Regions from separate parts of the Homo sapiens genome. Here region 2 is linked to region 1. The links are contacts of gene promoters, found by promoter capture Hi-C in human tissues and cell types (Jung and others, 2019). All regions are on one chromosome and are shown on one strand. Each heading gives the region's core, a stretch centred on a gene start or on the middle of the fragment in contact. The rest is flanking DNA. Distances are from core to core; before and after follow the strand shown.

The links. Contacts are between HindIII fragments. The study calls those that stand out against the background at their distance.
Region 2: a contact is called between a fragment that was not itself captured here and the fragment with the promoter of NAA50 in region 1, in 1 of the 25 tissues and cell types used here (hippocampus).

What each region holds. Positions count from the first base shown.
Region 1 is chr3:113,744,904-113,751,430 of GRCh38, forward strand. NAA50 (N-alpha-acetyltransferase 50, NatE catalytic subunit) reads right to left here and starts at 1,346. Exons shown (of 5, transcript NM_025146.4): 1 at 1,039-1,346. The coding sequence starts at 1,046. It overlaps ATP6V1A (ATPase H+ transporting V1 subunit A), which reads left to right and starts at 2,132. Exons shown (of 15, transcript NM_001690.4): 1 at 2,132-2,210. RefSeq lists enhancers at 190-926, 530-679, 927-1,662, 1,663-2,398, 1,720-2,089 and a silencer at 1,250-1,369. The HindIII fragment of the contact is 9,566 bases long and covers 1-3,521 here.
Region 2 is chr3:115,103,391-115,110,352 of GRCh38, forward strand. All of the region lies in intron 1 of ZBTB20 (zinc finger and BTB domain containing 20), which reads right to left. Among named protein-coding and RNA genes, the nearest start is that of ZBTB20-AS4, 6.4 kb to the left of the region's middle. The HindIII fragment of the contact is 9,266 bases long and covers 1-6,962 here.

The DNA of each region.
Region 1 (6,527 bases), core at 96-2,595:
TCATCCTCAAAAGTGCTATTGAATAGTTGGAATGACTTCGTTAACTTAAAACATAGTTACGACTTCTTAATCGACTTACAACAACAAACTATGGCATCGCAGAGAGCTTTTTAACGTTTATGAGCTTCATCTCTTTGAGGGTAAAGACAAGCTCCAAAACGGCTTGAGACAATGCTTCGGAAAAATGTTACGTAATTAATACATTAAAACTATACAACTTAATGGTAAGGAGACATTTCATAAAAACTTAACCAGTCGATCCAAAATAATTCCTAATTTTACGTAAGAGGCAAACGGTGAAAGACCGAACATTAACTTTGCCAATCACCTGAAAGGAGCAGCGTGGTAGAACTACCCAGGACCGCCTCAGCACTCAGGGGCAATAGTGAACTACTGAAGCAACAGCTCCACCTACTGATCCACCCTATACTTCCTTAAATATGTTGGCACCCCAAGTCTACAGTGATCGCGCTCTCTCCCCCTCCTCCACTCGCTGTGACCCAACCCAAATCTAGTTGAGTCACTAGCTCTTAATACTCATCCCCGTGCTCTTTATTCCAATTTCTTCTTCCTCCAGAAGGTTCTGCACAGCTCCCAAGCGTGAATTAAACTGAAAGGTGTCAAACACCGCAGTTCCAGAGTTGAGTCTGGAGGTGGAAGACAACCAAACCACTCCACCTGGAGCTGCGGGCCGGCGTGGCTCAGCGGTCCGCTCCCGGGAAGGAGGCCCCGGGCGCTTCACAATAGCCTTTCCATGTTGCCCCACTCGGTCGCTTCTCCCCACTCAACAACCCACACTCGTCTCCGAACCGAAACCCTGAAGCCCCCCGGGTCTTGCCTCCGCTGGCCCTTCAGCCCGCCAACAGCCCGAGCCTCGCCTCCGCCCCCTCCGGGAGCCGAGGGAACTGAGAAGCAGAGAAATCTCCCTCCGCCCGTCTTCGCCCTGAATCTCTCCTCGCCTTTGCGGCTCTCCCCCTCTACATGGGCCCGGACCCTTCTACCCCACCGGCCGGGCCCTGCCCGGCTGCCCTTCCTCACCCTTTCATCTTCCCCGCCTGCTGAGGCCGTCGTTACCACCGATATCAACGCCGTCGTAGTCGCCGCCCTTAGGTCTCCGCACCCTTAGCTCGGGCCACTCAACCCCGCAAGCCGGCCTCCTAGCCTGGGCAGGGAGCTGTGCGAGCAACGAAGGCCGCGAGAGTCGAGTGAGGGCTTGAGTCTGGTGGGGGCGGGAGTGTCTCCCGCCGCCGCGCTTGTGCCGCCGCTTCTCCACACGTGCACTCGGGTCTCTCGGCTCCCTCCCGCCGCTGCCGCCAGCCAGACCCGCTGCCGCGCTGTGACCTTTCACCCCGCCCCTCGCGCGCCGGCGCGCCGCCGCCTCACGCGCAGCCGCACTGCTCGCCTCCGCGCACCCTGCCCCCTCCACTCCGGAACCTCCATCTTTCTCCTGGACTGGGCCTTCTGGGGTCATGCTCCTCCCTCCCACCCGCTTACGACACTGCTTGTGGGGCTGGCTCGGTAGGCCCTGGCGGTAAAATCCAGATTTTTCCACCCCTCCCTCTCTTGTCCCATATCCGCAAGATAGTTTTTCTCAGCCCCGTTCTTCCCAGTTTGTGGTCTCCAGAGTGACCTTCAAACGCTGTTGCCTCCTAGTAGGGTTTTATAAAGTTAGTTCTTCTAAATGTAAAGAAATCTGTGGAAAGCTCAAGTTTAAGTTAGGTGTTTTAAAACAAACGTAGTTAACAATCGGCCAGATAGATTGGCTACCCTCCAGCACGCCTCAAGTTTTAAGATCACGTGATTGGCCCAAACCTCAGAGCCTGGAATTTTACCGGCGGACTCCAGAGGGACGGAACGCCACCGCCATTTCCTGTCCCTCGATTGTGGCGTGAACGTCACTTCCTTAGCAATGCGCTTTAACTCTTGCTGTCCACATTTTCCACATTGTACTTTATAACATACTCTTTGTGAAAATTTATCTTTTATTTCTTTAATCCAAGAAAATTAATATTCAAGGGATCCGTAAAAATTCAGGCCCCCCGAGATGTAGAGCGCTGGGATGGAGGAGGCAGGGCGGAGCTCGACGTCATGTGACTGGTTGGGCCCGCCCCCCCCCCCCCCCCCAACCTGTGCAGCTGAGGACTTCCCCTCCGTGGTGACAGCCTCTGGGTCCTCGGTCGGTACAGTCTCTGCACCTCGCGCCCCAGCAGGTGAGCGGCGACCGGTAACTGGCGAGTGGTGGGGATAGAGGGGGTGGAAGGAGGCAGAGGAAGGAGAGAAGGGAGAGTGTGAACGGCGACTTTTCTGCCTGAGGCTTCCTCCCCGCTGTCACCCTGCACCGGCAAGGAGCTCATTTCTCCTTAACCCCCGCTCCCCCAAGTGTGGTCGTTCCCGCTACTTGGGGATTCAGATGTCCACCTTTCCCAGGGTTGGAAGTGAGTGCGGCCATTATGGTTCCCTACTCAGAGCCTTTGGGGCTTCGGGTAGCAGATTGTTTCAGCCATTTCACAGGGTCTGCAGTAGACATTAGGTCCCATTCCTTAAAGCCCATTCTTTGGCAAAGGTCCTCACTGTCCTTACCCTCAGCTCAGGGCTGAGGAGCGGGGAGGTAGCAAAAACCCTGGAGGCAGAGGCGTCTCCGGTGAGACAGGCTTGGGAGGGACTGTCACTGATACGGCCCTCACTGCAGAGTCACTGTGAAGCTTCCCTCCGAATGTGCTTTCTCAGTGATTCTAAGGATTTTATCTGACATACCTGCAGGGAAGGTTCCGTAGATGTTCACGTGCTTCGGATGGGACTAGAAAAGTAAAAGAAGGGCTTTTACTTTTTCTTCTCTGCAGAGAGGACAGTTGAAGGAATACTGTCTTCAAAACAGGAGGTGTTAGTAATGCGACAGTCTCGATTGAATGAGGAGGCGTTGAAAGATGGTATTGTGGTGTTGTGGTGTGCAGGAGGCCCAGGCTGGTTTAGGGAAGAGTGAGTAGGGTTCCCTGAAACCGAAATAAGAAACTGATTGGGTTGGAAATAGTTAAACCAAATTGATTTGGCCATATGCTTAAAGGTAGAATCAAGTCGAGATGTTGCTGTCTGCACATGTTTTCTGCCGTCAATCCTTCCCTTTTTGTCATTTTCCCCTAAAATACTACTGAATTGGCACTCCCAATCTATTCCTTGATCGGCTTTGTGGTAAATTTAGGTTAAGTAGCATTTGTATCCCTCTTTAGCTTTCCCCATTTGTAAAACTCCCGGTGCCCTCTTCAGATTTTGATGAATAGTATTTTGTGAAAATACAGAAATTGTTGTCCAATTGAAAATACAGGTGTTGTCCAACCCAAGTACTCCCATTCCGTCCATAATGTATTATTACCAATGTTTTGATCCCAAACAATGTGCTTTAGGGAAGAATGTTTTTCAGTTTGTGGTTAAACTCTTTTATTTATACTGCAAACTCAGAAAATTCCATGCTGCTTTTCAATTGAAGGTCTTACGAATATTACAAATTTGATTTTTAAAATTTAAATTACACCTTTCTTAATATGAAAAATTATATGCTCAGTTAAATCTTGTAGTTTTCTAACTAAGGTAATTAAAGAAGACTGCTGGAAAATGAGGAAGATGGAATCATCTTTGGTGGATGTGACTGATTTATTTTTGTTTTTCTGTGTCTTCCAAATTCTATACAATAAACGGTCTTATTTTGTTAAGGAGAATAAAAAGTTAAAATTCTACAATAGCAGCAGTTTAACAAAGTATTTTTATAGTAAGTGCAAAATACATAACCTAGCTTATTGATGCTCCTTAGTAGAAAACATAACCTCGGAGATGTTGCTTTCCCCAAGTAATGAAGATTACTACTATCTCTTGTGGATTTACCATTTTAGCATTTCGTACTTACGACCCATACTGGACAATAGACTAATGTATTGATATATTTATGTCATCATGCCTGCTGTAGATATATATATGTAGTTTTATCCATTAATTTTCTCCATAATAAGGTTCCTTGATCTCTAGAGGAGAGGGGAAGAAAAAAAGGAAGTGTTACTTCAGTGACCAGGTGACATTGCACCACGTAAGGAGAATTCCTTATGTGGTCTGGAAGTCCTAACTAGTCCTGTCTGGCTGAGACCAAAATGTGAAAGAGAAAACCAGCTAGAAGCATTGACTACTAGAGGGGAAAATGTCAGTATGAAAGTGGTTGGATGAGTCTGCAGTTTTACTTCACAATTCCCCCAGTTTTAGGGAACTCGTGAAAGCAATAACTTAGACCACTGATGAAATGTAGATTAGTAGTGGGAATTGGTGATTACATTGCTAGTAAGGTTAAATGTGAAAAAAAGCTTTGACATTATACACAGATCACACACACACACACACACACACACACACACACACACACACACGATTGGAAGCCTGGAAAACATTTCTGAGACTAGCCTTATCAGTTTATGAGTGTTACATGTAGAAATCTTAACATTTATTAGGGAATTGTGCTATAGTCCACTATTAAATAAAGCATAAGGGTTTGGTTTTATTTTAGGGCCCTTGGCACTTCTGGTTTTCTTTTCCTGAGTTCTTGTTTTCAGTGCCTTTATAGATTTTTGCCACCACTAAGAATGCTTTCTTCCCCATGGGCAGAGGTAGCCACTCAGTCCTATAGACTACTACTAATCATCATCATCATCTTTTCTATTCTTCTACTTGCACTTCTAGCATTGTATTTAATTCCTGTTCCCTGGGCTCTTCCTCAGCAAATCATAAAGCTCTCAGGACTGTGAACTATAATACTATTGTGTCTTCAGCACCAGAATACTGAAGTACCTGATAGGTACTCAATAAATTATTTATTGAATGAATGTTGGGCAATTAGACAAAGAAATTAAACCACTTTAATTTTTGCAGATCATAGCTCTTCCTAAAGTTGTGCACTAAATGTTAGCTTTTAAATATAAACTGGTAATAACCTTCCAAATTCATGGTCAATACAATAGATAAAAACCTCAGATGGACTTTATTAATGCTGAGACCAACTTATTTTCACAGCATGTTTGTTTACTAATAAGTATGGTTATCATCAAAATATGGGAGAGAAGGGAAGAGGAATGAATCGTACTAAATGAAAAAGTGGCTCTGCGTGATCTATAAGTGGACTAGCACTAGACTAAAAGTCAGAGGATCTTCATTCAGCTCTGCCACTTTAGTTATATGTCCTTTTACGTAATGCTGGGGAGGGGTTCAGGTTTGATACTTAGGAACCTTCCTATGACATAAACCCTAGGTAATCTATGTGAAAATATCTTAAAAACTAAGTGGTGTCTGTAATCCCAGTGCTTTGGGAGGCCAAGGCGGGCAGATCACAACGTCAGGAGATCGAGACCATCCTGGCTAACACGGTGAAACCCTGTCTTTACTTAAAAAAATTAAAAAAATTAGCCAGGCATGGCGGCACGCGCCTGTAGTGCCAGCTACTCAGGAGGCTGAGGCAGGAGAATCACTTGAACCCGACAGGTGGAGGTTGCAGTGAGCCAAGATCACACCACTGCGCTCCAGCCTGGGCAACAGAGTGAGACTCCATCTCAAAAAAAACAAAAACAAAAACAAAAAAAACTAAGTGGTGTGTAAAATGGTAAAGCAGTGTAGCTCAGACTTTACATGAATTGATTTCCCAGTCATAGAGACCTAGTTGAAGTTCTGGCCCTACCACTTAATAACTGTGTGACTTTGGACAGTGTACTTAAGTAAGGTTAAGTTTTCTCACGTTTAAATCTATAGATGGTGCTATTAAGTTAGATCATGAATGTAAAATGCCTAGAACATATTTTGTAAAAAAAATTTTTAATTAATTTTACTGATAACTACTTTGATTTTATATACTGAATTTCTAAAGACTTAAGACAACCCACAGAATTGACTGATGTCCCTGTGAGCAGCAGGTTTGGGGCATGAAGAAGAGAGTAGAATTTGAAAAGAAGCTATTACCCAAAAAATGGGGGAACAAGAAAAGTGTACTTGTAGCAAAGATTCTAAAACAGATTTATTAATTTTATCTGAAAAATATCAAGATAAAGTCCCTTATTTGGGCAACTGCAGTGTCTTAATATTTTCTATATAAAGATTTTCCAAAGCTTGTAATCATTAATGTATGGAATAAATTTAAGGAGGCAGTTCTTCAATTTTGAAGTTTTTATTCCTGCAATGGATTATAGAAGTATATTAAAATTGTACAGATTGTAGAGCAGGGACTTTTGAGTTAATGCTTATAAGCTTAAAAATTTTGTCTTTTTAAAAAAATTAAGTGTTTTTATATCTTATTTTTATCCTTATATGAAATAGACAAAGAAATGTAGAGAACATAATGGAGACATAAACTAGAGTAAAATTCTTCCCTTCTTAAATTCATGATTCACAAGGGTTAGTAGTTTTGCAATGGAAAATATCAGCAAATTAAACAGTAAGTATAGCTATCATGAGTTTATGAATCACTTTATTCCTGAAAAAAAAAATTACTCATTTGTCTTAAGGAAAGA
Region 2 (6,962 bases), core at 1,704-4,203, 1.4 Mb after region 1:
AACATAATATTGAAAGAGAAGAACAAAGTTGGACAAATGAAACTACCAGACTTCAGGACTTACTATAAAGCTACAGTAATCAAGAATGCATGATGCTGGCAAAGAATAGACACAGCAGATCAGTGCAACAAAATAGACAGCCCAGGAGAAGGCCCACATATGTATAGTCAACTGATCTTTGACTTAAAAGGAAAAGCAATACAATGGAGCAAAGACAGTATTTCCAACAAGTGGTGACGGAACGACTGGACGTCTACATGCAAAAAAATAAATCCAGACGCAGACTTTACACTCTTCACATAAATTAACTCAAAATGGATGGATCATAAACCTAAATGTAAAATGCAAAATTCTAAGACTCCTAAATAGGAAAAAATCTGGATAATTCTGGGTTTCACAATGACTATTTTAGATACAACACCAAAGACATAATCCATGAAAGAAATAATTGATAAGCTGGATTTAATTCAAATTAAAAAGTTCTACTCTGCAAAAGACACTGTAAAGGTAATGAAAAGACAAGCCACAGACTGGAAGAAAATATTTGCAAAAGATGCATCTCATAAAGGACTGTTATCTAAAACATGCAAAGAATTCTTAAAACTCAACAGTAAGAAAATATTATAACCTGATTAAAAATGGGCAGAAGACTTTAACAGTGACCTCACCAAAGAAGATATACAGATGGCAAATAAGCGTATGAAAGGGGCTCCATATTATATGTCATTGGGGAAATGCACATTAAAAATAACAATGACATACCACCACACATGTAATAGAATGGCCCAAACTCACAGCACTGACAACACCAAATGATGATGCGGATGTGGAGCAACAGGAACTCTCATTCATTGTTGGTAGGAATGAAAAATGGTACAGCCACTTTGGAAGACAGTTTGGCAGTTTCTTACAAAACTAAACACATATACAATCCAGCAATTGCAGTGGTTGGTATTTATGCAAAGGAATTGAAAACTTATGCCCACACAAAAACCTACACACAGATGTTTACAGTAATTTTATTCATAATTGCCAATATTTGGAAGAAATTAATATGCCCATTAGTAGATGAATGGATAAATTATGGTACATCCAGGCAGTGAAATATTATTTAGTGCTAAAACGAAATGAGATATCAAGCCATGAAAAGACATGTAGGAAACTTAAATGCATATTACTAAGCAAAAGAAGCCAATCTGAAAAGATTGCCTTCTATCCACTGTACGTATCTATACACTGTATGATTCCAACTATATGACATTCTGAAAAGGCAAAACCATGGAGACAGCAAAAACTCATTGTTTGCAAGAGTTTAGGGTAGAGAGAGGGATGAACAGGAAGAACACAGGATTTTCAAGGCAGTGAAACTACTTTGTATAATACAATAGTGACAGATAGATGTCATACATTTGTTCAGACCCACAGAAGGCACAACACCAAGAGTGAACCTTAATGTAAACTATGGGCCTGGAGTAATAATAATATGTCAAAGTTGGCTTATCATATGTAACAAATATATGACTCTGGTGGGGGATATTGATGATGGGGAGGCTGTGCATGTGTGAAGGCAGGGGGTATATGAGAAATCTCTGTACCTCCCCATCGATTTTACTATGAAACTAAAATTACTCAAAAAAAAGTCTATTAAACAATAAATTAAAAGAAAATTGGTTCTGGTCCCAGCATTGCCACAAATAGCTTGCGTACCCTCGTCAAGTCATGCAACCATCCTGAGTTTCAGTTTCTTCCTATGCTAAAAATAACAAATTTAAAAGGACGGAATTGAACAGCGTATCATAATAATAGTTATTAAAGCCAATGCTTAAGTGCTTACTATGTGTCAAGAACTGTTCTAAGTACTTTTTATTTCTTAACTCTTTAAAGCCTAACAATTACCCTATAATGTAGGAATTATTTTTAGTCTCATTTTCCAGATGAAGAAAAAAGAGAGATTAAGTGACTTGCCTGAGATCACATAGCATAATAATAATGATAGGATTTGAACCCAGCCTGTCTAGCTTAGAGTTTATGTGTTTAATCCCTACACTATACTGTTTTACCCAATACCTAAAGATAGTTAAGGCCCCATCCAGCCATGACTCTGTGGTTGTGAGTCAAATCTAGTAAGTCCTGATGATTTCTTACCCTATCTTGCTTACTAACACAGAATAGTGAAAATTTGCTGTTTAATACCCATAGCTCTCAATACGTTCAATTTAATGGTACCCAGCAACTCCATCTAAAGTACATACTCTATCATGCATTCTTAAAGGTTGCATAGTTCAAGATTCAAATATCTAATAGTAATGCAAATAATTGTTTAAAGAACTAAATAATAAACACAATAAAATATTTCCTATTTTCTATAGCCTGAGAAAGGAATTAAAAAAGCAAGAATTCAATTGTAAAGGATTTGTGTATTTTGGGGGTTTTGTTTGTTTGTTTGTTTTTTGAGACAGCTCCGTCGCCCAGGCTGGAGTGCAGTGGTGCAATCTCGGCTCACTGCAATCTTCGCCTCCCCAGTTCAAGCGATTCTCCTGCCTCAGCCTCCTGACTAGCTGGGATTACAGGCGCGTGCCACCATGCCTGTCTAATTTTTGTATTTTTAGTAGAGACAGGATTTCACCATGTTGGTCAGGCTGGTCTCAAATTCCCGACCTTGTGATCCGCCCACCTCAGCCTCCCAAAGTGCTGGGATTACAGGCGTGAGCCACCGTGCCCAGACAAGAAAAGTCTGGGATTAGTGGGTCAAAATGAGTAATTGCTACGCTAAGTAAATGACTTTGCCATTGAGGACACCACCATAAAGTTAATTGTAAGTGGCGTAATTACACAATAATTCTTTTTTTTTTTTTTTTTTTGAGACAGAGTCTCACTCTGTCGCCCAGGCTGTAGTGCAGTGGCCCGATCTTAGCTCACTGCAAGCTCTGCCTCCCGGGTTCACACCACTCTCCTGCCTCAGCCTCCCGAGTAGCTGGGACTACAGGTGCCCGCCACCACGCCCAGCTAATTTTTTGTATTTTTAGCAGAAACGGGGTTTCACCATGTTAGCCAGGATGGTCTCGATCTCCTGACCTTGTGTTCCGCCTGCCTCAGCCTCCCAAAGTAATGGAATTACAAGCATGAGCCACTGTGCCCGGCCAATTAGGCAATAATTCTTAACCCTAGTCATCTATTTTAAAATTGTATCCCATCGGGCCCAAGGACAATAGTAGGCCAGGAGTACCATCCTTAAATGGGAAGAGTTGCACATCTAATTTAAATTCTAATCAACAAATGTTTAAATTTAAAACTAAAATAAAGTATTACATGTAAACTAAGTCATTGGAAGTACATTTATTATGGCCAGAGGATTTTATATGCCTCTCTCCCTACAAGACTAAGAGACTCCCTCCCCACCATCGCCACCTTCTTCCCCTCTGCCCCCCAGAGCAGAGACCCTACTTATTAAGCTTTGTTGGTCTAGCATCTGGCAGTACACCTGTAATATATCTGAAGCTCAAAAAAGTTTTCCTGAAAGAATGAATGACTAAACAAACAACAGTACATAGGGTTTATAAACCTTGGTTAATTAAAAACTTAAATAAATTTGAGATATAAGGATGATATAAACAAGTAAATAGCATTTCAAAAAATGTATTGTCACATATTAAACACATCCTTATCTTAAGATCTTGTGACAAACAAAAATAGAAAAAGTAATCTTCAACTTTGCTGTATGTTTGAAAGAATTTCACAATAAAAAGTTGGATAAGGCTGCATGCAGTGGCTCATGCCTGTAATCTCAGCACTTTGGGAGGCCAAGGTAGGAGGGTCACTTGAATCTAGGAGTTAGAGACCAGCCTGGACAATATACTGAGACCGCATGTCTATAAAAAAATCAGCCTTGTATGATGGCATGCACCTGTAGTCCTAGCTACTTGGGAGGCTGAGGTGAGAGGATTTCTTGAGCCCAGGAGGTCAAAGCAGCAGTGAGCTATGGTTGCACCACTGCACTGCAACCTGGGTGACAGAGTGAGACTGTGTCAAAAAAAAAAAAAAAAGTTTGTTAAAAAAAGTATTCATATCTCACACCAGTCAGAATGGGGATTATTAAAAAGTCAAGAAACAACAGATGCTGGCGAGGCTGCAAAGAAATATGAACGCTTTTACACCATTGGTGGGAATGTTCAACCATTGTGGAAGACAGTGTGGCGATTCCTCAAGGATCTAGAACCAGAAATGCCATCTGACCCCACAATCCCATTACTGGGTATATACCCAAAGGAATATAAATCATTCTACTATAAAGATACATGCACAGGTATGTTTACTGTAGCACTATTTACAATAGCAGACATGGAACCAACCAAAATGCCCATCAATAATAGACTGGGTAAAGAAAATGTTGTACATATACACCATGGAATACTATGCAGCCATAAAAAGGAATGAGATCATGTCCTTTGCATGGACATAGATGAATCTGGAAGACATAATCCTCAGCAAACTAACACAGGAATAGAAAACACTGCATGTTCTCACTCATATGTGGGAGCTGAACAATGAGAACACATGGACACAGGGAGAGGAACGACACACACCAGGGCCTGTCGGCGGGTGGGGGGTGAGAGGAGGGAGAGCATCAGGACAAATAGCTAATGCATGTGGGGCTTAAAACCTAGATGACGGGTTGATAGATGCAGCAAACCATGATGGCACACGTATACCTATGTAACAAATGTAGAGGTTCTGTGCATGTATCCTGGAACTTAAAAAAAAAAAAAGATATTCCCATACAACTATCAGAATTTCAATAAACATCATTTCTGAAAAGAAAATTCAGCTTGCCTTCACATTTCATTTATCTATTATTTCTTTCAAATCTATAACATAAGTGTTTGTAAAAGGCTGAAGTTGGCTTCAGAGTACTTCATGGGAATGGAATTGTCCTCTTTGAGGAAAACATCTTGATAAGCTGCTGGAGTCAGAGAGTGAGGCATGAATATTTCTTGTGGGGTTAAACTGTACTACATAAAAAATGAGTAACAATTTGAAGTTAGGGGAGCACAGAGATGAGAGGGAGGAAGAAGAGGAGTAGTGGGAATTTCCCAATGTAAACGTGGCCAGATTTTTTAAAGTAATGCCTAATAATAAATTCTATGAAGTTTATGTTTTGTGATGCAAATATTCTCCTTCTCTCCAAACTTTCAGGAAAGGATAATGTATATTCTACAGTCTTATATAGTAGTAGAACGAAGAATCAAATAATGAAAAAATGAAGTTATTGCCTCACATTCACCCATATACTGTAGCCTTTATAATCACGGCAGTTTCCTAATAAGACAGAAAATATTACCGGAGTTCCTCGGAGTGACCAGTGGTAGAGTGAACAGTGGCCAGTGAATAGTAAATAGCAAAGAGTAGAAAATCAAAAGTATCTTTAATATAGAATGACTCATATCTATATATGAGTCATTTTCCACAATTGTAAAGGAGAAATATGACCATGGGGAAAAGTGGCACGGAGTTTAGTATCTGAATGATAAGATTATTATGCTATTATAGCTGTTGTTACTACTCCTATAAGCTGATCTTAAATGATATGATTATCTTTAGAAATTTAGAAGAGGGTACTTTTGTGACACAATCAATAAATGCTAAATCAATGGATTACAAAATATAAAAATGTTATTTGTAATATCTCCCTGGCTCCAGAACAACGTATTAGACACATATACTATATGAACTCTTCTGCTGCCTGGTCAATCCTCTCTACTAAACAATCTACAACAATGCCAGCAACTATCTTAAAAGTTTCCACATCTACATAATTTACTTATATGTACAGTTTATATTTAATACAAAAGGAAAGGAAAGAGAAACTACAGAGTGCATTCTATAGGAAAAATAAAAGTCACAGAGAAGATATAAAAGGTACATCTTAATTGCCATAGATGTTTGTCAAGCAGGTTGGTGAGATCCTTACTGTTTGACCTGGTGCGGCTATACTCAAAAACTCAATAGTCTTCATATCTTTCCAAAATACAAAAGTTGCTACTATTAATAAGAATGCTTTATTAAAAGTTATCTCTACTACATGTGTCAGAAACAGCCCAACATACACTTTCTCATTTAATCCCCCAACAGCATTAAAAGAAATCTCATTTTCAGATTATACATAAACAAAAAGAGGCCCAAAGACACAGACCTAATAAGTAGTAAACGTCGGGCCTAACATCTATCCAAATAGAATGTGTAAGGAATAGAAGGAGGGGCTTTATAAAATTACTCCAAAAATTATCTAGAATAACAGACTGGTGATATTAGGTAGAAAAAGAAGACTAATGATGGGGAACAGATTTGAAAGGATATATGTTCCCTAGATAATTTCAGAACTTAAAATTTTATATTTGTTTGAGGAAAAGTATATTAAGTATCTCAAAGTAAAATTTAAAGAAAGGATAATGGAAAAGACTAGTATATTAAAAAATAGCTTTCAAAAGCGATGAAAGAAACATACCATGAACCAGTTTGATTAAAGAGTTGGAAACATTAGGCGGGGCACTGTGGCTCACGCCTGTAATCCCAGCACTTTGGGAGGCCGAGGTGGGCAGATCACCTGAGGTCAAGAGTTCGCAACCAGCCTGGCCAACATGGCGAAACTCCGTCTCTACTAAAAATACAAAAAAATTAGCTGGGCATAGTGGCACATACCTGTAATCCCAGCTACTCGGGAGGCTGAGGCAAGAGAATCACTTGAACCCGGGAGGCGGAGGTTGCAGTGAGCAGAGATCACGCCACTGCACTCCAGCCTGGGCGATAGGGACTCTGTCTTAGAAAAAAAAAAAAAAAGAGTTGGAAATATTAATAGCAATCTGTCCAGCAATTTTGAAGCGAGTTATTAATAACGGAGTCAGCATGATAGCAGCCTGCTAAGCCCTCTGAGGCAACAGGCCATAGGGATGATTCAAAATAGGTAG